7 separate regions of the Homo sapiens genome follow, and regions 2, 3, 4, 5, 6 and 7 are each linked to region 1. The links are contacts of gene promoters, found by promoter capture Hi-C in blood cells and fetal thymus (Javierre and others, 2016). All regions are on one chromosome and are shown on one strand. The core of a region is centred on a gene start or on the middle of the fragment in contact, and the rest is flanking DNA. Distances in the headings are between cores, read along the strand shown.

The links. The method cuts DNA at HindIII sites, captures the fragments that hold promoters and counts their contacts. A CHiCAGO score of 5 or more calls a contact.
Region 2: a fragment that was not itself captured here is called in contact with the fragment with the promoter of GAPDH in region 1 in 3 of 17 cell types (activated CD4 T cells, non-activated CD4 T cells and naive CD4 T cells); the score reaches 8.3 in activated CD4 T cells.
Region 3: a fragment that was not itself captured here is called in contact with the fragment with the promoter of GAPDH in region 1 in 4 of 17 cell types (fetal thymus, total B cells, total CD4 T cells and 1 more); the score reaches 5.6 in fetal thymus.
Region 4: a fragment that was not itself captured here is called in contact with the fragment with the promoter of GAPDH in region 1 in 1 of 17 cell types (total CD8 T cells); the score reaches 5.3 in total CD8 T cells.
Region 5: the fragment with the promoter of GNB3 here is called in contact with the fragment with the promoter of GAPDH in region 1 in 10 of 17 cell types (activated CD4 T cells, naive CD4 T cells, erythroblasts and 7 more); the score reaches 11.1 in activated CD4 T cells.
Region 6: a contact is called between the fragment with the promoter of GPR162 here and the fragment with the promoter of GAPDH in region 1, in 8 of 17 cell types (naive CD4 T cells, total CD4 T cells, non-activated CD4 T cells and 5 more). The highest score is 8.7, in naive CD4 T cells.
Region 7: a contact is called between a fragment that was not itself captured here and the fragment with the promoter of GAPDH in region 1, in 11 of 17 cell types (monocytes, non-activated CD4 T cells, activated CD4 T cells and 8 more). The highest score is 13.6, in monocytes.

What each region holds. Positions count from the first base shown.
Region 1 is chr12:6,532,837-6,537,016 of GRCh38, forward strand. GAPDH (glyceraldehyde-3-phosphate dehydrogenase) reads left to right here and starts at 1,681. Exons shown (of 9, transcript NM_002046.7): 1 at 1,681-1,733; 2 at 1,974-2,025; 3 at 3,658-3,757; 4 at 3,848-3,954; 5 at 4,084-4,174. The coding sequence starts at 1,997. It overlaps GAPDH-DT (GAPDH divergent transcript), which reads right to left and starts at 1,571. Exons shown (of 2, transcript XR_002957397.2): 1 at 628-1,571; 2 at 1-307. RefSeq lists enhancers at 1-686, 687-1,460, 1,461-2,234, 3,783-4,180 and silencers at 863-1,112, 1,833-1,972. The HindIII fragment of the contact is 4,237 bases long and covers 1-3,370 here.
Region 2 is chr12:6,885,227-6,889,406 of GRCh38, forward strand. LOC105369632 (a long non-coding RNA gene) reads right to left here and starts at 4,132. Exons shown (of 4, transcript NR_135083.1): 1 at 4,080-4,132. It also overlaps the pseudogene DSTNP2. RefSeq lists an enhancer at 928-1,475. The HindIII fragment of the contact is 1,590 bases long and covers 490-2,079 here.
Region 3 is chr12:6,190,644-6,194,823 of GRCh38, forward strand. No RefSeq gene overlaps it. Among named protein-coding and RNA genes, the nearest start is that of CD9, 7.7 kb to the right of the region's middle. RefSeq lists enhancers at 1-439, 440-1,125 and a silencer at 3,453-3,502. The HindIII fragment of the contact is 5,273 bases long and covers 1-4,180 here.
Region 4 is chr12:6,226,620-6,230,799 of GRCh38, forward strand. The region is part of intron 2 of CD9 (CD9 molecule); the gene reads left to right. All of the region lies in intron 4 of LOC105369625 (a long non-coding RNA gene), which reads right to left. Among named protein-coding and RNA genes, the nearest start is that of CD9, 28 kb to the left of the region's middle. RefSeq lists an enhancer at 4,164-4,180. The HindIII fragment of the contact is 2,363 bases long and covers 1,037-3,399 here.
Region 5 is chr12:6,838,466-6,842,645 of GRCh38, forward strand. GNB3 (G protein subunit beta 3) reads left to right here and starts at 2,460. Exons shown (of 10, transcript NM_002075.4): 1 at 2,460-2,568; 2 at 2,793-2,879; 3 at 3,121-3,159. The coding sequence starts at 2,823. It overlaps P3H3 (prolyl 3-hydroxylase 3), which reads left to right. Exons shown (of 15, transcript NM_014262.5): 14 at 535-675; 15 at 832-1,382. The coding sequence ends at 996. The HindIII fragment of the contact is 12,557 bases long and covers 1-4,180 here.
Region 6 is chr12:6,819,436-6,823,615 of GRCh38, forward strand. It overlaps GPR162 (G protein-coupled receptor 162), which reads left to right and starts at 2,386. Exons shown (of 5, transcript NM_019858.2): 1 at 2,386-2,465; 2 at 4,033-4,180. CD4 (CD4 molecule) reads left to right here. Exons shown (of 10, transcript NM_000616.5): 10 at 1-1,364. RefSeq lists enhancers at 1-426, 1,397-2,369. The HindIII fragment of the contact is 21,739 bases long and covers 1-4,180 here.
Region 7 is chr12:6,795,968-6,800,147 of GRCh38, forward strand. CD4 (CD4 molecule) reads left to right here. Exons shown (of 10, transcript NM_000616.5): 2 at 4,105-4,180. The coding sequence starts at 4,172. Among named protein-coding and RNA genes, the nearest start is that of CD4, 8.5 kb to the left of the region's middle. The HindIII fragment of the contact is 2,728 bases long and covers 637-3,364 here.

The sequences.
Region 1 (4,180 bases), core at 431-2,930:
GAAGATCACGCTTGGGTGGTGCAGGAGCATGGAGGTGCTCTTAATGCTCTCAATGAGAAAGGGTTAACGGTCCTGGTTGCAGGAATAGCTGAGTCAGAGGTGGGGCTTCCTCCACTCCCCCACCCCACCCCTTTCACCATTAGGGACCTTCTTGCCTTGCTCTTGCTACTCTGCTCTGGGTGGTCATTGTGAAAAGCCCGCACCAACCATGCCAGTGGCAGCCAGACGAGGACACAGCCTGGCTCTGGGTCCCAGCAGGAAAGGCAATCCCAGAAAGGCAGGGTCAGGGACTGGAGTCCTGTGGGTGCTTTTTAAGCAAAGATTATCACCAGGCAGGCTAAACTTAGCAACCGGCTTTTAGCTAGAAGGGCAGGGGGCTGGTGTCAGGTTATGCTGGGCCAGCAAAGAGGCCCGGGATCCCCCTCCCATGCACCTGCTGATGGGCCAAGGCCACCCCACCCCACCCCCTTCCTTACAAGTGTTCAGCACCCTCCCATCCCACACTCACAAACCTGGCCCTCTGCCCTCCTACCAGAAGAATGGATCCCCTGTGGGAGGGGGCAGGGGACCTGTTCCCACCGTGTGCCCAAGACCTCTTTTCCCACTTTTTCCCTCTTCTTGACTCACCCTGCCCTCAATATCCCCCGGCGCAGCCAGTGAAAGGGAGTCCCTGGCTCCTGGCTCGCCTGCACGTCCCAGGGCGGGGAGGGACTTCCGCCCTCACGTCCCGCTCTTCGCCCCAGGCTGGATGGAATGAAAGGCACACTGTCTCTCTCCCTAGGCAGCACAGCCCACAGGTTTCCAGGAGTGCCTTTGTGGGAGGCCTCTGGGCCCCCACCAGCCATCCTGTCCTCCGCCTGGGGCCCCAGCCCGGAGAGAGCCGCTGGTGCACACAGGGCCGGGATTGTCTGCCCTAATTATCAGGTCCAGGCTACAGGGCTGCAGGACATCGTGACCTTCCGTGCAGAAACCTCCCCCTCCCCCTCAAGCCGCCTCCCGAGCCTCCTTCCTCTCCAGGCCCCCAGTGCCCAGTGCCCAGTGCCCAGCCCAGGCCTCGGTCCCAGAGATGCCAGGAGCCAGGAGATGGGGAGGGGGAAGTGGGGGCTGGGAAGGAACCACGGGCCCCCGCCCGAGGCCCATGGGCCCCTCCTAGGCCTTTGCCTGAGCAGTCCGGTGTCACTACCGCAGAGCCTCGAGGAGAAGTTCCCCAACTTTCCCGCCTCTCAGCCTTTGAAAGAAAGAAAGGGGAGGGGGCAGGCCGCGTGCAGCCGCGAGCGGTGCTGGGCTCCGGCTCCAATTCCCCATCTCAGTCGTTCCCAAAGTCCTCCTGTTTCATCCAAGCGTGTAAGGGTCCCCGTCCTTGACTCCCTAGTGTCCTGCTGCCCACAGTCCAGTCCTGGGAACCAGCACCGATCACCTCCCATCGGGCCAATCTCAGTCCCTTCCCCCCTACGTCGGGGCCCACACGCTCGGTGCGTGCCCAGTTGAACCAGGCGGCTGCGGAAAAAAAAAAGCGGGGAGAAAGTAGGGCCCGGCTACTAGCGGTTTTACGGGCGCACGTAGCTCAGGCCTCAAGACCTTGGGCTGGGACTGGCTGAGCCTGGCGGGAGGCGGGGTCCGAGTCACCGCCTGCCGCCGCGCCCCCGGTTTCTATAAATTGAGCCCGCAGCCTCCCGCTTCGCTCTCTGCTCCTCCTGTTCGACAGTCAGCCGCATCTTCTTTTGCGTCGCCAGGTGAAGACGGGCGGAGAGAAACCCGGGAGGCTAGGGACGGCCTGAAGGCGGCAGGGGCGGGCGCAGGCCGGATGTGTTCGCGCCGCTGCGGGGTGGGCCCGGGCGGCCTCCGCATTGCAGGGGCGGGCGGAGGACGTGATGCGGCGCGGGCTGGGCATGGAGGCCTGGTGGGGGAGGGGAGGGGAGGCGTGTGTGTCGGCCGGGGCCACTAGGCGCTCACTGTTCTCTCCCTCCGCGCAGCCGAGCCACATCGCTCAGACACCATGGGGAAGGTGAAGGTCGGAGTCAACGGGTGAGTTCGCGGGTGGCTGGGGGGCCCTGGGCTGCGACCGCCCCCGAACCGCGTCTACGAGCCTTGCGGGCTCCGGGTCTTTGCAGTCGTATGGGGGCAGGGTAGCTGTTCCCCGCAAGGAGAGCTCAAGGTCAGCGCTCGGACCTGGCGGAGCCCCGCACCCAGGCTGTGGCGCCCTGTGCAGCTCCGCCCTTGCGGCGCCATCTGCCCGGAGCCTCCTTCCCCTAGTCCCCAGAAACAGGAGGTCCCTACTCCCGCCCGAGATCCCGACCCGGACCCCTAGGTGGGGGACGCTTTCTTTCCTTTCGCGCTCTGCGGGGTCACGTGTCGCAGAGGAGCCCCTCCCCCACGGCCTCCGGCACCGCAGGCCCCGGGATGCTAGTGCGCAGCGGGTGCATCCCTGTCCGGATGCTGCGCCTGCGGTAGAGCGGCCGCCATGTTGCAACCGGGAAGGAAATGAATGGGCAGCCGTTAGGAAAGCCTGCCGGTGACTAACCCTGCGCTCCTGCCTCGATGGGTGGAGTCGCGTGTGGCGGGGAAGTCAGGTGGAGCGAGGCTAGCTGGCCCGATTTCTCCTCCGGGTGATGCTTTTCCTAGATTATTCTCTGGTAAATCAAAGAAGTGGGTTTATGGAGGTCCTCTTGTGTCCCCTCCCCGCAGAGGTGTGGTGGCTGTGGCATGGTGCCAAGCCGGGAGAAGCTGAGTCATGGGTAGTTGGAAAAGGACATTTCCACCGCAAAATGGCCCCTCTGGTGGTGGCCCCTTCCTGCAGCGCCGGCTCACCTCACGGCCCCGCCCTTCCCCTGCCAGCCTAGCGTTGACCCGACCCCAAAGGCCAGGCTGTAAATGTCACCGGGAGGATTGGGTGTCTGGGCGCCTCGGGGAACCTGCCCTTCTCCCCATTCCGTCTTCCGGAAACCAGATCTCCCACCGCACCCTGGTCTGAGGTTAAATATAGCTGCTGACCTTTCTGTAGCTGGGGGCCTGGGCTGGGGCTCTCTCCCATCCCTTCTCCCCACACACATGCACTTACCTGTGCTCCCACTCCTGATTTCTGGAAAAGAGCTAGGAAGGACAGGCAACTTGGCAAATCAAAGCCCTGGGACTAGGGGGTTAAAATACAGCTTCCCCTCTTCCCACCCGCCCCAGTCTCTGTCCCTTTTGTAGGAGGGACTTAGAGAAGGGGTGGGCTTGCCCTGTCCAGTTAATTTCTGACCTTTACTCCTGCCCTTTGAGTTTGATGATGCTGAGTGTACAAGCGTTTTCTCCCTAAAGGGTGCAGCTGAGCTAGGCAGCAGCAAGCATTCCTGGGGTGGCATAGTGGGGTGGTGAATACCATGTACAAAGCTTGTGCCCAGACTGTGGGTGGCAGTGCCCCACATGGCCGCTTCTCCTGGAAGGGCTTCGTATGACTGGGGGTGTTGGGCAGCCCTGGAGCCTTCAGTTGCAGCCATGCCTTAAGCCAGGCCAGCCTGGCAGGGAAGCTCAAGGGAGATAAAATTCAACCTCTTGGGCCCTCCTGGGGGTAAGGAGATGCTGCATTCGCCCTCTTAATGGGGAGGTGGCCTAGGGCTGCTCACATATTCTGGAGGAGCCTCCCCTCCTCATGCCTTCTTGCCTCTTGTCTCTTAGATTTGGTCGTATTGGGCGCCTGGTCACCAGGGCTGCTTTTAACTCTGGTAAAGTGGATATTGTTGCCATCAATGACCCCTTCATTGACCTCAACTACATGGTGAGTGCTACATGGTGAGCCCCAAAGCTGGTGTGGGAGGAGCCACCTGGCTGATGGGCAGCCCCTTCATACCCTCACGTATTCCCCCAGGTTTACATGTTCCAATATGATTCCACCCATGGCAAATTCCATGGCACCGTCAAGGCTGAGAACGGGAAGCTTGTCATCAATGGAAATCCCATCACCATCTTCCAGGAGTGAGTGGAAGACAGAATGGAAGAAATGTGCTTTGGGGAGGCAACTAGGATGGTGTGGCTCCCTTGGGTATATGGTAACCTTGTGTCCCTCAATATGGTCCTGTCCCCATCTCCCCCCCACCCCCATAGGCGAGATCCCTCCAAAATCAAGTGGGGCGATGCTGGCGCTGAGTACGTCGTGGAGTCCACTGGCGTCTTCACCACCATGGAGAAGGCTGGGGTGAGT
Region 2 (4,180 bases), core at 35-2,534, 350 kb after region 1:
GTAAAATGATCTATACAAGCTCCAAGGATGCAATCAAAAAGAAATTTCAAGGCATAAAACATGAATGGCAAACAAACGGACCAGAAGATCTCAATCGGGCTTGTACTGCTGAAAAGTTAGGTGGATCCTTTTTTTTTTTTTTTGAGATGGAGTCTTGATCTGTCGCCCAGGCTGGAGTGCAGTGACAGGATCTCGGCTCACTGCAACCTCTGCCTCCCGGGTTCAAGTGATTTTCCTGCCCAGCCTCCTGAGTAGCTGGGATTATAGCGTGCGCCACCACACCTGGCTAATTTTTGTATTCTTAGTAGAGTCAGGGTTTCACCATATTGGTCAGGCTGGTCTCGAACTCCTGACCTCGTGATTTGCCCTCCTTGGCCTCCCAAAGTGCTGGGATTACAGGCGTGAGCCAGCATGCCTGGCCAGTGGATCCTTAATTGTAGCCTTTGAAGGATGCCCTGTGTAGATCATCATTCAGTGCCACAAATTGAAAGCTTCCACGTTTAATGTTATCCTCTTGCTATATAAATAAAGCAAATATATTTAGGCCAGGGTCTCACTGAGGGGAGCTGTCTTGTCATCTTTTAGAGTAAACTAAATACTCTATAAACATATGCAAACAGCCCTAAATATATCTGTAGGGGTGGGTTGCCCCTCCACACCTGTGGGTGTTTCTCGTAAGGTGGGACGAGAGACTTGGGAAAGAAAAAGACACAAAGTATAGAGAAAGAAATAAGGGGACCCGGGGAAGCAGCGTTCAGCATATGGAGGATCCTGCCAGCCTCTGAGTTCCCTTAGTATTTATTAATCATTTGTGGGTGTTTCTCGAAGAGGGGGATGTGTCAGGGTCACAAGACAATTGTGGGGAGAGGGTCAGCAGACAAACACGTGAACAAAGGTCTTTGCATCATAGACAATGTAAAGGATTAAGTGCTGTGCTTTTAGATATGCATACACATAAACATCTCAATGCTTTACAAAGCAGTATTGCTGCCCGCAGGTCCCACCTCCAGCCCTAAGGCGGTTTTTCCCTATCTCAGTAGATGGAGCATACAATCGGGTTTTATACCAAGACATTCCATTGCCCAGGGACAGGCAGGTGACAGATGCCTTCCTCTTGTCTCAACTGCAAGAGGCATTCCTTCCTCTTTTACTAATCCTCCTCAGCACAGAACCTTTACGGGTGTCGGGATGGGGGATGGTCAGGTCTTTCCCTTCCCACGAGGCCATATTTCAGACTATCATATGGGGAGAAACCTTGGACAATACCTGGCTTTCCTAGGCAGAGGTCCCTGCGGACTTCCGCAGTGTTTGTGTCCCTGGGTACTTGAGATTAGGGAGTGGTGATGACTCTTAAGGAGCATGCTGCCTTCAAGCATCTGTTTAACAAAGCACATCTTGCACCGCCCTTAATCCATTTAACTCTGAGTTGACACAGCACATGTTTCAGAGAGCACGGGGTTGGGGGTAAGGTTATAGATTAACAGAATCTCAAGGCAGAAGAATTTTTCTTAGTACAGAACAAAATGGAGTCTCCTATGTCTACTTCTTTCTACACAGACACAGTAACAATCTGATCTCTTTTGCTTTTCCCCACATATATCTAAAGTCTAAAGTTGTTTTTTTAAAAAAAAAAAAGAAAAGAAAAGAAAAGAAAAAAGAAAATAGCCAGGCGCGGTGCTCACGCCTGTAGTTCTAGCACTTTGGGAGGCGAAAGTGGGTGGATTGTTTGAGCTCAGGAGTCCAAGACCAGCCTGGGCATCACGGTGAAACCCCATCTCTACTTTAAATATACAAAAAATTAGCCAGGCATGGCGGCGTGTGCCTGTAGTCCTGGCTACGAGGGAGGCTGAGGCAGGAGAATTGCTTGACCCTGGGAGGCAGAGGTTGCAGTGAGCCGAGATTGTGCCACTGAACTCCAGCCTGGGCCACAGAGCAAGACTCTGTCTCAAAAAAAAAAAAGAAAAGAAAAGAAAAGAAAAAAAATAAAGCCCTGTTGAGGACTTGTAATATATCAGGAATAATGCAAAAAAAAAATTATTCAGACATTTTGCAGCATGAAACACTTCAGTAAATTTATGAAGCTTTAGTTTGGTCTTTTCCTTTTTCTCCTGAGGGTGATTTTTATCAGTTCCTCAAGATTTTTTATTAGTGTTTCTCTGTGGCTCTCAAAAACTTCTTTATTTTTATGATTATTTCCTTATATTTTAGAGACTGGGTCTTACTCTGTCACACAGGCTGGAGTGCAGTGGCGAAGTAGCTCACTGTCACCTTGAGCCATGATCAAGGGATCCTCGGCTTCAGTCCCTCAAAGTGCTGGGATTACTGGCATGAGCCACCATACCTGGCCAGGCCAAGAAGTTCTTTACTTTCTTCCTCAATGATGTATAAACAAAGCCATCACGATCCACTTGCTAGGCGACTTGCACAATGAGTTTCACTTCTTTGTCAATAGAAACCCTTGGCCAGGCGCGGTGCTCACGCCTGTAATCCCAGCACTTTAGGAGGCCGAGGTGGGTGTATCAGTTGAGGTCAGGAGTTCAAGACCAGCCAGGCCAACATGGTGAAATAATACTAATAATGTAAAATAATATCTCTACTAATAATACAAAAATTAGCCAGGCATGGTGGCACATGCCTGTAATCCCAGCTACTTGGGAAGGTGAGGCAGGAGAATTGCTTGAACATGGGAGGTGGAGGTTGCAGTGAGCTGAGATCACACCACTGCATTCCCGTCTGGGCAACAGAGCAAGACTCTGTCTCAAAACACAAAAAACAAAAAAAAAAAAGAGAAAGAAACCCTTAAAATTCTGAACACATTCCACATGCATTGACTGTCAGGCTTCGTTGCTTCCATTACCTGTTTGTTTGTTTGTTTGTTTATTTATTTATTTATTGAGACAGGGTCTTGCTGTATCACCCAGGCTGGAGTGCAGTAGCATGAGCATGGCTCACTGCAGCCTCAACTTTCCCAGGCACAGGTGATCCTCCTGCCTGCACCTCCTGAGTAGCTGGGACTACAGGTGCACACCACCACGTTCAGCTAATTTTCTGCAGAGATGAGGTCTTGCCATGTTGCCCAGGCTGGTCTTGAACTCTTGGACTCAAGAGATCTGCAGCCTCCCAAAGTGCTGGGATTACAGGCGTGAGACACCACACCTGGCCTCCCATTGCCTGTTTAAATAGAAATGATGCAACTAGCAATATGGAAGGACTTCCAGATCTTTACCACATTAAGATTAGGGTCAGCATCCATGGCTCTGGGAGTCAAGGGAGAATCTCAGCCTAATGTATGTGGCTTTGAAACAGCAAATAATGCTTAGATCAGCAGAGTGAAGGATGGAGTCATGTTGGGACAGGAAACCTTCATTCAGCGCCTTTATGAGCACATTCATAAAGTGTGTGGTACATCAGTGTGGTATTGTTGTGTCCTGCAGCACAAAGCCAGATTTTTTCTCTTTGAGGTCCTGCTTGACTTCTAGAATGAAGATATTTGAAACTGAATCAGGGAAAGTACTACAGTCACCCAGGACTTTGCATTTGATTGCTAGAGCACAGGCAGGTTTTTGTTTGTTTGTTTTTTTTGACAGTCTCGCTCTGCAGCCGCGGCTGGAGTAAAGTGGCTCAATCTCTGCTCACTGCAAACTCTCCCTCCCAGGTTCAAGCAATTCTGTCTCAGCCTCCCGAGTAGCTGGGATTACAGGGGTGTGCCACCATGCCTGGCTAATTTTTGTATTTTTAATAGAGATGGGGTTTCACTGTGTTGGCCAGGCTGTCTTGAACTCCTGACCTCAAGTGCTCTGCCCATCTCAGCCTCCCAAAGGCTGGGATTACAGGTGTGAGCCACCGTACCGCCGTTTTTTGTTTGTTTGTTTTGTTTTTTTTTTTAAAGGGCACCAGGATTTGTAGAATGACAGCCCTGTAGAACTACACTGCCCCTGCACTTGGGGGCAAGGGCAAAGGGTGGAGGGGAATAGCATTCAGAAGATCATGAGTTGCTTTCAAACCAGGGCCTTGTGTTTCTAGTTTGGAAATATTAAATGCAGTTGGGCATCTTTCCCCAGAAGATAGCAACCACTAACCTCATGGTATTCTGGAAGATGGCCTTTTCACCAGTAATTTTTCTTTTTTTTGAGATGGAGTCTTGCGCTGTTGTCCAGGCTGCAGTGCAGTGGCACGATCT
Region 3 (4,180 bases), core at 1,128-3,627, 340 kb before region 1:
GTCAATTGGTGCATTCACAAATCCTGAGCTAGACACAGGGTGCTGATTGGTGTGTTTACAAACCTTGAGCCAGATACAGAGTACCGATTGGTGTATTTACAATCCCTGAGCTAGACATAAAGGTTCTCCACATCCCCACCAGACTCAGGACCCCAGCTGGCTTCACCCAGTGGATCCCGCACCAGCGCTGCAGGTGGAGCTACCTGCCAGTGCCGCGCCCTGCGCCCACACTCCTCAGCCCTTGGGTGGTTGATGGGACTTGGCACCGTGGAGCAGGGGGCGGCGCTCATCGGGGAGGCTCGGCCGCACAGGAGCCCACGGAGTGGGTGGGAGGCTCAGGCATGGTGGGCTGCAGGTCCCGAGCCCTGCGCCGCGAGAAGGCAGCTAAGGCCCAGTAAGAAATCGAGCGCAGCGCGGGTGGGCCAGCACTGCTGGGAGACCCAGTACACCCTCCGCAGCCGCCGGCCCGGGTGCTAAGCCCCTCATTGCCCGGGGCCCGCAGGGCGGGCCGGCTGCTCTGAGTGCGGGGCCCGCCAAGCCCACGCCCACCTGGAACTCCAGCTGGCCCGCAAGCGCCGCTCACAGCCCCGGTTCCCGCTCGCGCCTCTCCCTCCACACCTCCCTGCAAGCTGAAGGAGCCGGCTCCGGCCTTGGCCAGCCCAGAAAGGGGCTCCCATAGTGCAGCGGCGGGCTGAAGGGCTCCTCAAATGCCGCCAAAGTGGGAGCCCAGGCAGAGGAGGCCCCCAGAGTGAGCGAGGGCTGTGAGGACTGCCAGCACGCTGTCACCTCTCAAGGGGACCAGCGTTCAGCATACGGAGGATCCCGCCAGCCTCTGAGTTCCCTTAGTATTTATTGATCATTCTTGGGTGTTTCTCGGAGAGGGGGATGTGTCAGGGTCATAGGATAATAGTGGAGAGAAGGTCAGCAGATAAACACGTGAACAAAGGTCTCTGCATCATGAACAAGGTAAAGAATTAAGTGCTGTGCTTTAGATATGCATACACATAAACATCTCAATGCCTTACAGAGCAGTATTGCTGCCCGCATGTCCCACCTCCAGCCCTAAGGCGGTTTTCCCCTATCTCAGTAGATGGAATATACAATCGGGTTTTACACCGAGACATTCCATTGCCCACCTTCCTCTTGTCTCAACTGCAGAAAGGTGTTCCTTCCTCTTTTACTAATCCTCCTCAGCACAGACCCTTTACGGGTGTCGGGCTGGGGGACAGTCAGGTCTTTCCCTTCCCACGAGGCCATATTTCAGACTGTCACATGGGGAGAAACCTTGGACAACACCTGGCTTTCCTAGGCAGAGGTCCCTGTGGCCTTCCGCAGTGTTTGTGTCCCTGGGTACTTGAGATTAGGGAGTGGTGATGACTCTTAAGGAGCATGCTGCCTTCAAGCATCTGTTTAACAAAGCACATCTTGCACCGCCCTTAATCCATTTAACCCTGAGTTTGACATTGAGATTAACAGCATCTCAAGGCAGAAGAATTTTTCTTAGTACAGAACAAAATGGAGTCTCCTATGTCTACTTCTTTCTACATAGACACAGTAACAATCTGATCTCTCTTTTCCCCACACCCGCCATCATGCCCAGCTAATCTTTTTTTTTTTAGACGGAGTCTCACTCTCACCAGGCTGGAGTGCAGTGGCGCAGTCTCAGCTCACTGCAACCTCCGCTTCCTGGGTTCAGGCGATTCTCCTGCCTCAGCCTCCTGAGTAGCTGGGATTACAGGCACCTGCCACCACGCTCAGCTAATCTTTTTTTTTTTTTTTTTTCTGAGACGGAGTCTCGCTCTGTCGCCCAGGCTGGAGTGCAGCGGTGTGATCTCAGCTCACTGCAAGCTCTGCCTCCCGGGTTCACGCCATTCTCCTGCCTCAGCCTCCCTAGTAGCTGGGACTACAGGCGCCCGCCACCACGCCTGGCTAATTTTTTGTATTTTTAGTAGAGACAGGGTTTCACTGTGTTAGCCAGGATGATCTCGATCTCCTGACCTCGTGATCCGCCCGCCTCAGCCTCCCACAGTGCTGAGATGATAGGCGTGAGCCACCGCGCCCGGCCGCCCAGCCAACTCTTTTAAACAGATGCATGAAACCTGAAATTATCACCCAGGACAAATCTTGTAAGAGTCTAGTGGATGATTCAGAAAGAAGTTGCTACAGGAGTGTCCTGAGAAAGAGGATCAGAGCAGACTAAGATGACTGAGGGTGCTGGGGAAGGCAGGGGCTGGGCTGGCCTCAGAGATGGTGCAGGCTGCTTGAAGGGCAGAAAGGAGGAAGTGCCAAGAGCTTGGGCTTCGGAAAGAAGAGGTGGGGACCCAGGCATAGAGCTGGGGATGCATGTGGTATTCCAAAAGAGTGAACAGATTTGCAAACAGAGGTTAAGGCGAGAGAGCAGAGGGCCTGTATGATGATCTTACAATTGAGACATCGGCTTTCCATACATTCAATAAATATTGTGCACCTACTGTATGTCAGGCACTGTTCAAAGCCCTTGGGATACATAGAGAACAGAACAGCCATGCGGATTTTGCATTCTAGCTGGAGGAGACAGGTAAATAGCAATGCACATACCAAGGAAACATTCCACTCTGTGAGAAGGTAAATGCTATGGGAGCATTGTTTGGAAGTAGAACAGGGGTAAGGGGAGTTGGGAGATCTTTGAGCAGGAAAGAGTAAAGCTGAGCTTCAGGAGTCTGATGAAAGGATGATATTAAATATTGCTTGTTTAGAATTGCTCCCCGCCTGCCCCCAACCCCCATATACTAAGGAGGACAGACCCTGAGAGCCATGATTTGTTTTGCTGAGCAGGGTGAGGGGAGGTGGGGACACAAACGGAAAATGCCAAGTTTAGAGCTAAATTGCTCCACACAGACATATGCAGAGGACATCCACAGGGCAGGGGGCTGGCTGAGGCTGGGCTGGGGGGCAGATGATAGGGGTGGCTGCCACAGATTGGACGTTTGAGAAGAGCTATCCAGAGGGATTCTTAGAATGGTTCTCTCTGGCATATGAGAGGGAACCCCTCATCCACCTATCCGTGAAACCTTCATAAAATCCACACTGGACATAGGCAGTTTCCAGGTTGAGTGTGTGTGTGCTTAATGCAAGGAAAAGAAGTGATGGGTGAGAGGAGGGCAGCCCACCCCCAAGGACGCACGCAGCAAGACTCTCTGGGTCCAATGTTGTGTCCATCCTGGGCAGGTGAACAGCAGCGAGGCAGGGCAAGGGTAGAACAGCCGTTTGGGCTGCAGATGAGCTTCCAGGATGCAGCCCCCTTGCGGATGGCAGGGCATCAGGGGGAACAAAAGATCAGGATCCAACCCTGGACTGAAACCAGAAGCTCTGAGGTCTGATCTGTGCTCTGCCACTCAATCACTACAACCCGCCTTAGCCCTGGTGCCTCCCAGCAATGACGTAAGAACAGCTAAGAAACAGGAATCACATTCACTAAGCAGCTGTGAGGCTGGGGGAAGGAGGAGCCCCAGGTGATGGGAGGTGTTGGTGCTGACTGATTAGAGACAGGGAGGGCTGAGGAGAAAGTCAGCTGCGAGCCTAGAAAGCCCTTGGAGATTATGAATTCTGATCTTGATGTTTACATTGAGATTACTATATTTCCTATTGCTTCGGTAACAACCACAAATTTAGTGGCTTAAAGTAACACATATTTACTATTTCACAATTCTAGAGGTCTGAAATCTAAAATGGGTGGGCAGGGCTGTGTTGGATCCCTCTGGCAGCTGCAGGGGAGAATTCGTTTCTTCGCCTTCTCCAGCTTCTAGAGGCTGTCCTTGTTCCCCAACACACAGCTGTGCATCACTGCGACCTCTGCTTCTGTCGTCACATCTCCTTCCCTGGCTTTGACACTTCCACCTGTCTCTTATAAGAACCCTTTGGATTCCACTGGGCCCACTGGGATGGTCCAGGCTATGCCATGGAAAGTAACACATTCACAGTTTTGGGGATTGGAACGTGGGCCTATTTGGAGGGCCGTTAGAAGTGGAAACGGGCCAGGCACGGTGGCGCACGCCTGTAATCCCAGCACTTTGGGAGGCTGAGGTGGGCGGATCACCTGGGGCCAGGAGTTCAAGACCAGCCTGACCAACAGGAGGAAACCCCATCTCTACTAAAAATATAAAAAATATAAAAAATATAAAAAACACGGTGGCTTACGCCT
Region 4 (4,180 bases), core at 968-3,467, 310 kb before region 1:
ACATTTGAGCCCTGTGGATAGTTTTGCTGGGTTTACTGCTTTTTATTGTTAGCTGGGGTTTTTTGGGGTGTGTCTCTCTATTATCGGAAAGAAAGTGAGAGAAAGCACAATGTATGTTTAGAAAAAAAACTACACATACACACAGAGTTTTTGGGGAACAGGTTTCTATAGCGCCCTGACTTGTTTTGGCAACAGACCATTTTTTGGGAGTCTGTGACAGGCTTAGAATGCTGTCCTGCAGAGCAGGAGGGAGGAGCCGGGTGCGGGTGCTGGGGAAGACTCTCCACACTCCACGCCGTGTTCCAGAAGGGAGCCCTGTGCTGGGGGAGCAGGTCTGCCGGCAGGAGCAGGCACAGTCAGGCCTGCTTTCCTAAGCAAAAGCCCTGTGGCCGGCGCGTGTGTCTCCAAAGAGAGACTCAGTCCTCCCTTGTCCTGGCTGCTTCTAACAACCCACTTTTTCTTTTCTGTTACCCAAAGCCTCTATGGCTGATTCTTTATATTTTTAGATGTGGGAGTTAAGAATCTCATGGGTAAGAGGATGGAACTGGGAGGAAGACACTAACATTTTTATTTTTTATTTTTTTTATTTTTTTTTTGAGACGAAGTTTCAATCTTGTTGCCCAGGCTGGAGTGCAATGACACAATCTCGGCTCACCGCAACCTCTGCCTCCCAGGTTCAAGCGATTCTCCTGCCTCAGCCTCCTGAGTAGCTGGGATTACAGGCATGTGCCACCATGCCCAGCTGATTTTGTATTTTTAGTACAGACGGGGTTTCTCCATGTTGGTCAGGCTCGTCTCCAACTCCCGACCTCAGGTGATCCTCCCGTCTTGGCTTCCCGAAGTGATGGGATGACAGGCGTGAGCCACCTCGCCCGGCTGGAAGACACTAACATTTTTGAGCCCCCTTCTTTGTGTGTCATTCATTGTCTTGTGTGTATTATATAATTTAATCCCCTTAGCTCTACGAGGAGTGTGGAGTGATTCTCATCTCACAAGTGCAGAAACCGAGGCCTAGAGAGCTGAAATAACTTGTCTAAGCTTATATTCCCTCAAGAGGCAGGGCCAGGTTTTGAACCCAGGCCTAAAAGAGCTGCTTCTCGGGTTGTCATTGCCAGGTTGTGGGGTCTCCCTCTGTAGGAATGGAAGAGGTCTGTACTGGCTGAATGTGCCCCATTGGCAGGGATGGGGTGGCGCTGTCTTGGCCCTTTTACTTCACCCAAATTGCAGTCAGGGAGAGAAACCCCTGCGTCGGTGGCCCAGCCAGCAGCTGACAGGTGGGAAAGCTGCAGGGTGGCAGGAGAATGGTGAGTGCCATTAGAGGAGCTGGGGCTCACCTCTGGGAACCTCACAGGATTCAGATCCTGCAGGTCATTGCAGGGCCCTGCTGGTGGCCGGTGGTCCTACCTGAAGTGACCAGGAGGGTGATTTGAAGGCACAACCCCAAAGAGACACAGATCCCCTAGTTGGGGTCTAAGGGCCACTGTCCACTTAGCTCTGCCAGGGAAATACAGATCCTTTGCAGCGACACCCCATTCGGGGAAGAGAGCGGAGCTTTGAAGACTTCGTTCTGCCTGCAGAAGCGCCGGCAAGGGGGATGATGCACGGTAAAGTTAGAACAGCAGCACTGTGTCTGGGCACAGTGATCAGCCCTGATCTCAGGTGATCCGTCCGCCTCAGCCTCTAGCACTTTGGGAGGCCGAGGCAGGCAGATCACCCGAGGTCAGGAGTTCGACACCAGCCTGGCCAACATGGCAAAACCCCACTTCTACTAAAAATACAAAAATTAGCTGGGCGTAGTGGCGTGCACCTATAATCCCAGCTACTCGGGAGGCTGAGGCACAAGAATCTCTTGAACCTGGGAGGCAGAGGTTGCAGAGAGCTGAGATCACACCACTGAGGCTCTGTCTCCAGCCTGGGAGACAGAGCGGGACTCCATCTCAAAAAAAAAAAAAAAAAAAAAAACAGCAGCACAGCACTCTGAGCACTGCTTAGGTCTGAGCTATGCCCTGAACGTCACTGAACGCTTTAGGAAATAATAATTGTCGTCCATGGGCAAAGGGCCAAGGAGGCGTCGCTCTGTGTCCCCTTCCCCACGAGGCTGTGAGACCAGCCTTCTGTACTGGCCCAGAGCCCTTCTCCTAGCAGATGAGCTTGGAGTGCCAGCCACACCCTGGCTACTTTTCCAAGGAATAGTCATGGGGTGACCGCCCCTTGCACTGGGCCACCAACTGTCTGCAGAGCAACCCACAGGCCAGCCTGACCATGCAGCTGACTTTTCAGGAAACCTGAACAGCCCAGGGGTGTCTTTTCTCCAGTGGGGCCACAGCTTACCAAGTAGAGAAAGAGTATATAACCAGGCAGAAAAGCAAGTGAAAACCTTTCCAACATTCAGAACAGTCTATGGTAAGTCCAGAGCAGCTGACAGCCTTATATGGGCCTTCTCTCCAATCCAGGCCTGGAGATTCAGCCCGTCAGCAAGATCCCTAATCCCAGGCTGCAAACTTGTTGGGGAACTTCATTTTCTTGGTCCTAGGCCAGCAGCCTTTCCCAGCTCCCTGGTGTCCCTCCAGAACCATGGCTGCTGAATGAGGGCATCTAGGGGGGCTCCAGCCAGAGGCCGTGAATGCCCCCCCTTCCTCGGCCAGCCCCCTATCCATGATGAGGTGCCTGGTGATTTTCAGGACACGCGACACTTGGCCTTAGTAAGCTGGCATCCCCATCCTGGCTTGTGACCTGGGGCAGTTCATTTTATTGCTCTGGGCTTCATTTTTCTCCCTCCTGAAACCAGCACAGCTTACACAACCACAGCACAGCTTACACACCCACTCCCCTCTGGGGCAAAGAAGTACAGCGTGTGGCAAATGGAATTCCATTGTGGCACTTATTCCCGTGAACTCGGGAGGGCGGGAACCAAGACGAAACCAGTCGGGGCAGAGGTAGGGCTCCTTTGAACACCTGGTGGAGTTATTTGGATATAATAAACTTTTATTGCAGGCCAGAGGCCCTACCGGATTTTGTTCTCCTTCACACAAACGGGCGTGGTGAGTGCTGTTTGCAGGACAGAGCTGGTGTAGGGACGGGAGCCTGCTGTGTCCTCTCCCTGGGCTAAACTGAGAGCCCTGGTGAACAGTGAAAAACACTGTTCCATTTCTTGTGTAAAGGACACGCTGGCATATGCTACTGCTGCTACACCAGCCTTTCTTTTTTTTTTTTTTTTCTGGGCCTGTAATGTCAGCCTGAAAAAAGCAGAATAAACAACCCTTAAGCAAATTAATACCGTAATCCTAGAGAAGGCTCTGTGATGGATAACTTTTTCCATGAGTCAGACAGCAAGCTAACATTCGCTTGTTTTATAAAGGGGAACACTTTGTCATTTATCAACAGCAGCCTTGGCTAACAAGCTTGGGGTGTAAGCGATGAGTAGCTTCTCCAAAGGGAAGCACTGAATAGCCCTTGTAAAAACCAGCCCGAGCCCTGCAGTGGTTCCGTGACTTCCATGGGGCCTGCTTCCAGATGAGCTGTCCTGTAGCTTGCCGGCTGCTGCTGAGTCCCCGAACACAGCTGCCAGGGGATCGCTTCCCTTTTCCCGTGACTAGAGAGGGCTAAAGCTAGGCACTGCAGATCCGTAGCCATCCACGCAAGATTTAAAGCCCACAAAACCCGTGATCCTAAAATCTTCCTCTGCTGAGCCCTAGCATGAATATTTAATATTAACCACAAGCCCCATTAGGAGCATGTTCTCTTTCTCTGCGTGGGAAATACTTTCTCTTTAGTAGCTCACTTGCAGCTAATCCAATTCCCTTGGCCTCTGCCAGGACCGCCAGGTTCAAGAACTGGGATCTGGACTTAGAGAAAACATGTCTGCCTGTTCGTTCCCACTCCACGGTATTTCATGTGTTTGTAAATCCTTTTGATCTCTTAATACCTCCTGTTTATTCAGCCCCTGCTATGGAGCTCAAAGGAGTGACCTCATCCTTCCTTGACTTGCCCCCATTAGATGGGGAGAAACTGGGGCCTTTCTACTGTCCCCATGTGAGAGAACCAAAGGAGGCTGCCCTCTTACCCAGTGCTCCATGCATGGGGCTGCACAGCCTCCCCAAGCCCAGCTTGTGGCCTCAACAGCGTTTGACTGCCCAGGAAGATGCGACCTGACTTGAGGACAAGCTACATTTGTCCCCTT
Region 5 (4,180 bases), core at 1,210-3,709, 310 kb after region 1:
GGTCATTGTAGGAAGTAATTTAGGTAATGTACCTAAAAGAATGAGGCAGCGCCTGGTAATGATAAGCAATTAATGAATGTTAGGTGGGAAATTTCCGGACACCAGGGGCTAGGATTGGGTAGGAGGAGAGGGGCAGTGATTGTTCATCTGGGTGTGGGGTGTGAAAATGGTTCCAATATCTGTATCCCCTTCTGCATAGAGTCTGGTACTGCATGCACAGCCCCAGATTGCTTCAAGCCCTGGATTCAAAGGGCTGAGTGGGAAAAATCAGGGTACCAGGGGTCAGGAACCAACAGGAGACCATCCGTGGAGACCCCTTTTTCCTTTGGTTCCCAACTCCTCTTGCATTTTTGCTCTGCAAGTTGAAGCTGATTTCTCATTTGCCCCAAGCTAGTCCCTGAATTAAGGAGTAGGAAGTGGTAGCGAGAGAGCTGATCCTCTCTGTGCCCCTGTCCCCATCCTGCTCTAGGGAGTGAGGGCCAAGTTCTCTGAGAGAGCCAATCCCTGGAGCTGAACCTGCCCTCATCCCTCCAGGCTCGGGTGCGTCCTCGCTGTGGGCGCCTTGTGGCCTTCAGCTCCGGTGTCGAGAATCCCCATGGGGTGTGGGCCGTGACTCGGGGACGGCGCTGTGCCCTGGCACTGTGGCACACGTGGGCACCTGAGCACAGGGAGCAGGTAAGGAGCGGGGTAGGAAGGGATGTGGTTCTCCTGGTGCGTGAAGGGTGGGCAAGGAGCCCCCGAGAAGGCTCACAGTCGGTGAGGGTCAGGGGCTGAGCTGACCCAGGGAAGGTGGGTGCAGGGAATGGGCCACACTCTCCTCCCCAACCCCAGGAGTGGATAGAAGCCAAAGAACTGCTGCAGGAGTCACAGGAGGAGGAGGAAGAGGAAGAGGAAGAAATGCCCAGCAAAGACCCTTCCCCAGAGCCCCCTAGCCGCAGGCACCAGAGGGTCCAAGACAAGACTGGAAGGGCACCTCGGGTTCGGGAGGAGCTGTGAGTGGCTGAGCCAGCTCCTTGAGGATGTGGCCACTTGACTTGTGGAAGGCCATCTTGATGCCAGGACACACAGGAAGCCCCTGTGTGACATCAGGAGCAGAACAGCAAGCTCTCTGTCCCTGCACCCCCACCATCTTGGGGACCTACAAGGGCCTGGACTCAGAGGACAGTGCACAGGCTAGCCTGGAGCTCACCAGGCCTGGGGAGCTGGGACGGGGCCCCGCTGCCGGACCTGCAGCCCTGGACAGATGGGGAACACTGTGCCTCCCTGAACAGAAATGGCAGGGGAGGAGGCTGATGCTTTAAATGAAGAGGATGGTGGGGTTGGGAGGTATAACCCTGCTCCTCTCTCCCAGTCTGTGCAATAAAGGTCGTGAAGATCTCTCAGCCAGGGGCCAGTCAAGTGTATCACAGATTCTGTGATGGCTGGAGGTGGGGGTGGCTCTGGCTGGCCTGGGAGGAGACAGGTGTCTTTGGGCCTCCCAGAGGCGGGGCGCCTGGAGCCTGTGATTTGTCAGGGAAATCTCAGCCACCTGCTCCCCTCATGCAAATGACCCAAGCCCCTGGCAGCTGCTCCTTAGGCCTCCAAGTGTAAGCCCTGTCTTCCCTCTCTGAGCTTTGCTGAGACTTAGGGCCGCCTGCTTTCTCTCTGACCCCTGCTTTCACAGCCTCGAGAGGGCAAGGAGGGGGCCAGACCCCAGCCTGGGAGCAGCGTGCGGGCCTTCCCTCCACTTGAAATCCGTTGCCCGCCCACAATAGGGGCAGACCTGTCCATCCTTCTCTGTGGGTCCCCTGTACCTTTCTCCCCCAACAGGATCAGACCCAGAGGCAGCTGGTTGGGGTTTGTCGAGAAGAAGGATTATCCAGATCAGTCCTTTCTAATCTCAGCTCCTGCCTGTACCCTCCCATACTCACCAAACCCTCTTCCCCACCACCCTGAGCTGAGGAGCACAGTTTGAGGTACTGACAATGGGGCCATCTATCACCCTTATATCCCACCTCCTGGCCTGGTTGCTAAGTGGCCCTGACTGCCAAGATCATCACCATGGATGGGGGCCGGGACCAGGGGGGCCACTGGAGCTGTAGTTGTCTGCTCCTTTGCACCCCTCCCAAACCCCAACCCTTAATCCTCACAGCTTTGCTCTAATCCTGTGGGGCCTGATGCTCTTATCTCTGCCTGCAGAGACTGACCAGGGAAGCACCCCTTCACCCCCTCCTCTCTCAGGGCTTGTGGTGGGGGCTGCCCCTCTCTATGGCCCCACACTCCTGCCCCCAACCCTCCTCCCGGCTGGGCCCAAGTCTCTCTGGAATCCGTACACCTCCCTCCCTCCCCCCACCCCTTCCCCCCACCCCTGCCAGCTGATTTCATTTGCCTGACGTTGTGGTTGGCTCTACCCTTCCCTGTCAGGCCCCCCCAACCCCCCGCCGGTCGGGGCCAGGCCAGGCCAGGCCAGCTCCTCTGGCAGCAGAGCCTGGGCAGGTGACGGGCGGGCGCGGGCGTCGCAGCTGAGGGAGTAAGGAGGCTCCCAGGAACCGGAGCTGGAAACCCGGCCGAGGTCCAGCCAGAGCCCAAGTAAGAGGGAGCTGGCCTGGGCTCTGCTCTCCTGGGCTGGGGCGCAGGCAGGGCTCAGGCAGGCTGGGGCTGGACGCAAAGGACCTCAAACTTGGAGGGCCTAGCTGGGGAGAGGGTGCAGCCACCCAGTCGTTTCCCTGTGTCTTGGAGTCTGGTGTGGGCACGAAGGGCAGAAGCACAGCCTGGTGGGGGGTTCCTCAACACCGACCCCATGTTCCTGGCAGGAGCCAGAGTGACCCCTCGACCTGTCAGCCATGGGGGAGATGGAGCAACTGCGTCAGGAAGCGGAGCAGCTCAAGAAGCAGATTGCAGTAACTCCAGAGCCCTACCCCTGGGGCCCCAGAAAACAGCTGGGGACATGAGGAGCGTGGCCCAGGGGGAGGGGGCTGGGTTTGCTCTTGAGTGACTAGAAGTGACCAGGGACTTTCTAAACTTGGTTCGCATATTTGAGACCCCCAAGCCCCAGAGCCCCAAGACCAACCTGCCCTGAAGGCCCATGCACCTGCCACCCCCACCTCGCCCTTGCTCCCCTGATGTCTGCTTTCCCTGCAGGATGCCAGGAAAGCCTGTGCTGACGTTACTCTGGCAGAGGTAAGACCCCCTGTCCCCCGGAAGGCAGGGCATGGGGGGAGGGGAAGGGAGCTCCCCGACCCGCAATAGCGCGTTGCTCCGAGCATTAGTACAGCACGTCCTTGGAGTGAGGAAACCCATTAATTAATTCATTCGACCAACATTTTAGCGGGACCTGCTCTGAGCCAGGCACCATATTGGATGCGAAAGATGCGGACACGGTTCCTATTCTCATCCGTAGAACAAGAGTGACCACAGCCCCCTCCCAGGGCCTTGAAGATGAAGAAGCGATAGTACTTTGTAAATTATAAAGCCCTTGTAGACTCTAGCTGCTAGTTTTCTATGCTGTATTTTGTCAATTCTAAGATGCACATTTCTTCACATTTTGACATCTCTGAAATCAAGGTGCATTCAGCAATGGATCATTGTTTCAATTAGAATTGACAGCATCTTTTCTTTCTTAGTGATGCATCTTAGATTGGATTAAATATGTTAATAGTGAACACTTTTTATGAGCCAGATACTGGGCTAAGCTGCATAAATACCTGATTTCATTGAATTTTCATGATATCTCTGTAAGGTAGGTGCTATGATAAGCCTCATTTTACACCTTGAGTAAACAGACTCAGGGAGGTGAAGCAACTTGCCCAAGATAACAAAGCAGGCCGGGCGCAGTGGTTCACGCCTGTAATCCCAGCCCTTTGGGAGACTGACGTGAAAGGATCACTTGAGCTCAGGAGTTTGAGACCAGCCTGGGCAACATAGTGAGATCTCTTCTTAATATAAAAAAAATTGCTTTTAACTTTTTAAAAAAAGATAGCAATGCAAGTGATGGCAAATCAAGTCTGTTCACTCTGGACCCCCAGCCTAAGTCTAAAATGTGGTTAGAGCTCAAGGGGCATAGTACCACAGATTTCAGGAGGTACAGTTCAGGGTCATGGTGATGCCCCAGGCACCCAGTTAAAAAGCTAGCCGTGCTGCAGCGGTGGGTGCAAGCAGGCTCCTCTCGGCTTGGGAGAGCCAGCTCTGTGCATCTCTTCCC
Region 6 (4,180 bases), core at 1,136-3,635, 290 kb after region 1:
GTTCGCCTCCTCTACAATTTGCCATTGTTTCTCCTGGGTTAGGCCCCGGCTTCACTGGTTGAGTGTTGCTCTCTAGTTTCCAGAGGCTTAATCACACCGTCCTCCACGCCATTTCCTTTTCCTTCAAGCCTAGCCCTTCTCTCATTATTTCTCTCTGACCCTCTCCCCACTGCTCATTTGGATCCCAGGGGAGTGTTCAGGGCCAGCCCTGGCTGGCATGGAGGGTGAGGCTGGGTGTCTGGAAGCATGGAGCATGGGACTGTTCTTTTACAAGACAGGACCCTGGGACCACAGAGGGCAGGAACTTGCACAAAATCACACAGCCAAGCCAGTCAAGGATGGATGCAGATCCAGAGGTTTCTGGCAGCCAGTACCTCCTGCCCCATGCTGCCCGCTTCTCACCCTATGTGGGTGGGACCACAGACTCACATCCTGACCTTGCACAAACAGCCCCTCTGGACACAGCCCCATGTACACGGCCTCAAGGGATGTCTCACATCCTCTGTCTATTTGAGACTTAGAAAAATCCTACAAGGCTGGCAGTGACAGAACTAAGATGATCATCTCCAGTTTATAGACCAGAACCAGAGCTCAGAGAGGCTAGATGATTGATTACCAAGTGCCGGACTAGCAAGTGCTGGAGTCGGGACTAACCCAGGTCCCTTGTCCCAAGTTCCACTGCTGCCTCTTGAATGCAGGGACAAATGCCACACGGCTCTCACCAGTGGCTAGTGGTGGGTACTCAATGTGTACTTTTGGGTTCACAGAAGCACAGCACCCATGGGAAGGGTCCATCTCAGAGAATTTACGAGCAGGGATGAAGGCCTCCCTGTCTAAAATCCCTCCTTCATCCCCCGCTGGTGGCAGAATCTGTTACCAGAGGACAAAGCCTTTGGCTCTTCTAATCAGAGCGCAAGCTGGGAGCACAGGCACTGCAGGAGAGAATGCCCAGTGACCAGTCACTGACCCTGTGCAGAACCTCCTGGAAGCGAGCTTTGCTGGGAGAGGGGGTAGCTAGCCTGAGAGGGAACCCTCTAAGGGACCTCAAAGGTGATTGTGCCAGGCTCTGCGCCTGCCCCACACCCTCCCTTACCCTCCTCCAGACCATTCAGGACACAGGGAAATCAGGGTTACAAATCTTCTTGATCCACTTCTCTCAGGATCCCCTCTCTTCCTACCCTTCCTCACCACTTCCCTCAGTCCCAACTCCTTTTCCCTATTTCCTTCTCCTCCTGTCTTTAAAGCCTGCCTCTTCCAGGAAGACCCCCCTATTGCTGCTGGGGCTCCCCATTTGCTTACTTTGCATTTGTGCCCACTCTCCACCCCTGCTCCCCTGAGCTGAAATAAAAATACAATAAACTTACTATAAAGATGCTCTTCGTGTGTGTGTGTGTGTGTGTGTGTGTGTGTGTGTGTGTGTGAGAGAGAGAGAGAGAGAGAGACCCCTTCTCTGGGGACCAGGAATCTTCTGGTCTTTGGGGTCGGACCCAGAGGAGAGGTTGCTGGGCGTGCCCCAGGAAGGAGATGAAGTTTCCCTGGAGAGGGAAAAATTCTGTGGAGGCTGGCTACCCACCTCCACAACCCACAGGGCTCTGTGTGGGCCTGTGTGTGTGTGAGGCTGAGACTCTGTAATTACATGTGTGTGATATACCGTGGGGGAGAGACTCAGGGTTGTGTGAGCTCTCCTGGTGTATGTGTGTGGCAGAGAAAAAGGACTATGAGAAACTGTAACATGTGTGTGCAAATTGTATCCCCAACATATGTGTTTGTGTTCCAGGAGGAGGAGGCAGAGTGTGTGTGTCTGTGTGCATGCATGCGCCCACATCCTTTTAGCTTGTGCACAACCACCCCCAACTCCACAAGCAGCCCCAGTGTGCACCACAAGCCCCCTCACTCCCAAACCCAAGGCCCAGCCCTCACACAGATACACACAGTGACACACGCTTCCTCCTCCCCGAACAGCTAGCTCCTCAGTCCCCAACAACACCAGCTGCCTCTTGGAGCTTGTGTTCGTGTTGAAAACGGGAAGGGGTGGGGGCAGGACATGAACCATTTCACCAATGAAGCCGGTTCCCAGCCATCCTCCTCACCGCCCTCCCTCTCAGCGCCTTCCTTGCCCCTCCTCCCCGAGTCACCACCGTCCAGTTCCCCACCCTGCACTCGTTTCCCGCCCCCCCCCGCCCCCCACAAAGCTGTCCTGCCTTCCCTCTGGCCTGGGCTCACTGGCAGGACGACCCCGGGAGAGAGGGTCCTGGAGAGTGAGAGGGGCAGAGACCGAGTGAGCCGTGGGCTGAGCCTGGGAGGCCGGGACTGAGGGGGAGGAGGGAGGCCCGGGGGAAGGGAGGGAGGGAGAGAGGGAAGGAGGGAGGAGGGCGGGCGAGCTGGAGCCGGCAGGCAGCGGGAGCCCGAGAGAGCCGCGTCGGGAGTGCGGTCTCCATGGCAGTGCTGGGCGCAGCCGGAGAGAGGTAAGACGACCCCTGCCTGCCCCGTCCCCTGTGTTGCCTCCCTTTCCCCCTCAAGCTGCCTCCTCTCCCCTAGGCCGGCCCCTCCTCCCCAGCCACCTGCTGTTTCTGCCCTGGAGAACCTGGAGGGGGACAGGAGGGAGGAGCCGCCTGACCTTACCCCTTCACCCCAAAGGGCGAGGGACCCCGTCGGCCAGGGAACCTCCCAGATCCCCCTTCCCACCTTCCTCTGATCTCTCCCTGTCCTTCACCTCCCTCTCTCTGTCCTTCACATCTTTCCTGCCTCCTTCCCTCTCTGACTCCCTATCTCTTTCATCCTGAGCCCACCAGCTGGGCCTGGGTGGAGGTGGGTGGGAAGGGGTCCAGGGCTGTAGGAGAGGACACTGGGGGCTGCTCTTGGCCAAGTCCCTCCACCTCCCTCTGGCTGGCCATTGCCATGGCAACTAGGGTGTACTGGGCTCCGGAGGGAAGCCAAGGGTGGGGGTGGACCAGGACCTCTTGGGGAAAGCAAGGGTCTGAGCTGCTTCCATGGGAAACAGACCCTTTCACTGCTGTGCCCCATTTTTACCCCACTTACCCTAAAGCCATTATGTGCTTCCTTACAGCCCCACTCTGTTCAGGGTTTCACCCGATTCCCTTACCCCCCTTCCCAGGGCTCACTGAAGCTCAGCATCACGCACTAAAACTGGGACCATCCTTCCTCCCATGAGAGGGAAACTGAGGCTCTGGGCCAGGGAGGAAGAGTCAAGGTCTCCCCACGGGGAGTCAGCACCTTATTGAACATTTGGCTTTTCTTCTCAGCCTCCTATTCCCTGCTCCCTCCCTCCCTCCCTCCTCCAGTCCCTCCTCCCTCCAAAGCCTCCTCTCCAGGGGGTTTGAGCTTTTCCTGCTATTTTCAGATACTACCACTTTGCCCCCTCTTTCTCTTCTGCTCAAACTCTCCTCCTTCTCCCTAGTTCCCCCTCTTTCCATTTCTGGATGCTTCTGATGTCAGCGGTTTCCCCGCCTTCAGGTTCCCTAGCACCCCCTTCGGTCCCAGACTCCTTTCTCCCATTTTCCCAGATATGGGTAGCTGGAGGGTGATCACCCAGGTTTGGGGAAGTAGGGGCTAAGCACCAAGACCCCTGCATCCAGGAGACCGGCAGGTAGGGGAGGAAGGCTGTGATGCCATATCCCAGTTCACTGTGAACCCTCAAGAGGAAACCAGTCTTGTGTCTCCCATCAGTAGTTCTGAAGAGACATTTAGGGACTTGAAGATAGGGGTGGAGTAGTGCTGAGCAGGGGATGTTCTAAGAAGGAACCTGGGAGTTCCAGCGGGAGGAGGAAGGGCTAAAGGAGACAGGGAGGTGGGAATACCTTCTTCCCTAGAGGTCTGGAAGAGTGCGGCTCTCATCTGTGTGGGGTGTTTAGCTGTCAGAGTTAAGGCAAAGGAATGTTCTGAATGACCCTCAGGGCCTTAGTAATCAGTCATGCCTATAGTTTCAAGAAAGGGGGCACAGGAGGCTGATTGGAGACCAGCCCAGGCCCTACCTTTGCCCTCTCCCTCCCACATCTCATCTTTCCCTTGCAGCCTGTCCAGGGGGCTGAGCCCCACCCCCAAATCCCTGGGGCATCCAGAAGATTCCTGACTGGTCAAGAACCAGAGGCAAAAGAGACCTGGAAGTCCCAGCATGGGGACCAGAACCCCCCAGCCAGCCTCATAGTTGGGAAAGTAGCCA
Region 7 (4,180 bases), core at 751-3,250, 260 kb after region 1:
TTGGGGCGACTGGGCTTCATCCAGGCTGGGCTGGATGTGTGCATACATTTCAGTGACCCGTTTTAGAAACAGAATTAATATGGTGAATAGAGAAAGAAGAAATCAGTGACTTTCGCTCCTCCATACAATTCAATTTGGCTTAAGTTAGCCAAAGCCATACCAAGTCCTCTCTCTATGTCTCAGCTGCTGCCAGGCTTGTGGTGGCCACACAGCTGGCTAGACTGTCATCTCTGTCCTCAAGGGGCTCAAGCTAGAGGAGGAGAGTTGAGAAACCAAATCACTATACACAAAGTAGAAGGTGGAACACACCCAGGAGCATGTCAACGGGGTGCTGTGGGACTTCAGAGTAGGCAGATCGTCACCAAGCTTCAACGGCAAAGATGCCACTGGGGGAAAGAAGGACCAAGCTTGGAAGACAGAGTAAGTCTGGAGGCAAGATCTTGTCTCACCAGCAGGGGCCAGGTCCATGGTGACACCTTCCCCAGGCAGTCACCTCTCTGAGCCCACTTTATATCCTAGGCCTGGATTCAAAGACACTTGAGCCCTGCTCCAGCCTTCCTTTGAGGTGCTATCTTGGTGCCTTTCCTATAATCACTGCTCCAGTCCCATGTCATCTGGTCCCCAGTTACCACATCAAGCTTCCCGAAGCTCCACACAGACCATGCCACATCTTTACCAAAAAATCAGCAGTGGGTCCCCTCACCTCCAGGACAAAGCTCCAGCTCTTCGACCTGCCTGTCAATATTTGCAATCACTGCCTGCACAAATTAGCTGGGTGTTGTCATGAAAGGATCACTTGAGCCCAGGAGTTCCAGGCTGCAATGACCTATGATTGAACCACTGCACTCTGGCCTGGGTGACAGAGTGGATCTAAACTAAAAATAAAAAGATTTACAGTCAAGCCTCAAAGGCTTTTCCCATACCTTCTTCCACCATCACCTCCCTGAGCCCTCTCTTTCCTCCGAAGCCTCCTCGCACATCCCTACCACCTTTGCACACCTCAGAATGGGGACACCTCTCCCCTTTCCTCTCCATCTAACTTATGGTTTTCAAACTTGAGCGTGATCAGTTACCTGGAGATTTGTGAAAACCCAGATGACTAGACCCACCCCCAGTTTCTGATTCAGCAGGTCTGGGGTGGGGCCGAGGATCTGCATTTCTAACAAGTTCCCAGGTCATGTTGCCGCTGCTACTGATCCAGGACTTTGGGAATCGCTCCTCTAATCTACAGCTGTCCATTCCCCATGGTCCATTCAGAGCCTCTCTGCCCTGCCCCCACCACCCCCAGTCTCGCCTGTCTGCCAAGCGCACAGGAAACTCTCCTTCATCCAAACCCTGGACCAACGCCTTCTGCTTGGCCCACTCAGAGGCCTTGTAGGGTTGGTCTGATATTGGACAGAGAAATGGCCCTCTGCTCTTTCTCCCCTGACCTCTCTGAAGGGGGCCTGCCCCTCCACACCTGTGGGTATTTCTCGCAAGGTGGAGACAAGAGACTGAGAAAAGAAATAAGACACAGAGAAAGTATAGAGGAATAAAAGTGGGCCCAGGGGACCGGCGCTCAGCAAGTGAGGACCTGCACCGGTGCTGGTCTCTGAGTTCCCTCAGTATTTATTGATCACTATCTTTACTATCTCCGCGAGGGGAATGTGGTGGGGCTATAGGGTGAAGGTGAGGAGAGGGTCAGCAGAAAAACATATGAGCAAAGACTCTGTGTCATAAATAAGTTTAAGGAAAGGTGCTGTGCCTGGATGTGCTAGATTTATGTTTAACTTTACACAAACATCTCAGTGTAGTAAAGAGTAACAGAGCAGTATTGCCGCCATGATGTCTCGCCTCCAGACATAAGGCAGTTTTCTCCTCTCTCAAAATAGAATGTATGATCGGTTTTACACCGGGTCATTCCATTCCCAGGGACGAGCAGGAGACAGATGCCTTCCTCTTATCTCAACCGAATAGAGGCCTTCCTCCTTCACTAATCCTCCTCAGCACAGACCCTTTACGGGTGTCGGGCTGGGGGGCTGTAAGGTCTTTCCCTTCCCATGAGGCCATATCTCAGGCTGTCTCAGTGGGGGGAAACCTGGACAATACCTAGGCTTTCTCGGGCAGGGGTTCCTGCGGCCTTCCACAGTGTATTGTGTCTCTGGTTAATAGAGAACGGAGAATGGTGATGACTTTCACCAAGCACACTGCCTGCAAGAACTTTTCTTTTTTTTTTTTTTTGAGACAGAGTCTTGCTCTGTCGCCCAGGCTGGAGTGCAGTGGCGCGATCTCGGCTCACTGCCACCTCTGCCTCCCGGGTTCACGCCATTCTCCTGCCTCAGCCTCCCGAGTAGCTGGGACTACAGGCGCCCGCCACCACGCCCGGCTAATTTTTTTGTATTTTTTTAGTAGAGATGGGGTTTCACCGTGTTCACCAGGATGGTCTCGATCTCCTGACCTCATGATCCGCCCGCCTTGGCCTCCCAAAATGCTGGGATTACACGTGTGAGGCAAGAACTTTTTAAAAGTGCATCTTGCGCAGCCCTAGATCCATTAAACCTTGATTCAATACAGGACATGTTTTTGTGAGCACAGGGTTGGGACAAAAGTTACAGATTAACAGCATCTCAAAGCAGAACAATTTTTCTTAGTACAGATCAAAATGGAGTTTCTTATGTCTTCCTTTTTCTACATAGACACAGTAACAATCTGATCTCTCTTTCTTTTCCCCATACCTCTCACGCTGTATCAGGCCCCAATTCTTGGGAACGTCACCTTAGAACTGTCCCACACATTTCTACAGCCACTTGGCTCAGGCCCTTTGCTGACCAGGATGGTTGCAGTTCTGCCTTTGGTGCCTCGCCTCCTCCAGTTCTTTCACTCAGCAGCTGCAGGGGTCCACGTGGCAAATCTAATAATCTTCTTCTCTATAGAAAATCCTCTGCTGGCTCTCTAGTGCCCAGGATCCAGTCCCAGCATCTCAGCACGGCCTTCAAGCATTTCCACGTCCTGGCCTGGCTCCATGGTCTCCCCGCCAATTTGCCACCTTCTCCATGCATCCTTTTCTGATCCCCTCCTCACTCATCCCAGCAAAGAACCCCCTCCTGGCCTGAGCATAGCATTTCGTGGTGTGTATCTCAGAGCATCCAGTTAGGGGTGTGCAAGTTTACTTTGTTACTGGCTGATGTTGTGAAGTCCCAAGTTGTTGGTGCCGCAAACAAAAAATTGGACATGACACACACAAATAGCAAAGCAGCAAAAGTTTATTAAGCACAGTACGATCCACTATGGATCAAGGATGACCTGCGAATGGTATCAGCATCACTTTGCTATATTTCATGGCCTTTTCTATGTGTTTTTTTTCTCTTTTTCCTCAAGCTGCCTAAGCTTTAGCCAGCATGTGCCTTTTGGTTGACAGGTGGGTTGCTTAGTTTCTTGGCCTCTGTGTGTTTACGTGTCATTTCCTTCCCATAGTTTTAAGTACATGCATGATATGCACTCTGTAGGCATGAACCTTAAGTAGCTAATTACTATACGGGGTCATTTTGAGGATATCTTTTCTCTGTAGTACATGTGCATCTTTTTTTGCAGTGGTGCAATCTTGGCTCACTGCAACCTCCTCCTCCCTGGTTCAAGTGATTCTCCTGCCTCAGCTTCCTAAGCACCTGAGACTACAGGTGCATGCCACCACGCCCGGCTAATTTTTGTATTTTTAGTAGAGATGGGGTTTCACCATGTTGGCCAGGCTGATCTCGAACTCCTGACCGCAAGTGATCCACCCACCTCGGCCTCCCAAAGCACTGGGATTACAGGCATGAGCCACCGCACCCAGCCTAGTATATGCCCATCTCTTAGGAGCTGCTCCTAACTGGTTTGGTTTGGATCTAGCCAGCCATGGGGCTCCTTATTCACTTATTTATCTTCTGTTTTTGCTCACCTGCCTCTTTCTCTTGCTTCTGCTCCTACTCATTCCTTCCTTAATCCAACCTCCAATTCCCTCTGCTATTCTCCTGCCTCAAGTTCACTAGGCTGGCTGCAAGGGTCCTGAGGGAGAGGTTGTGTATCGCCCCTGTATACTCCAGGTCCAGTAAATGTTTGCTGACTAATGATTGGCATTTCCCTCAGGCCCTGCCATTTCTGTGGGCTCAGGTCCCTACTGGCTCAGGCCCCTGCCTCCCTCGGCAAGGCCACAATGAACCGG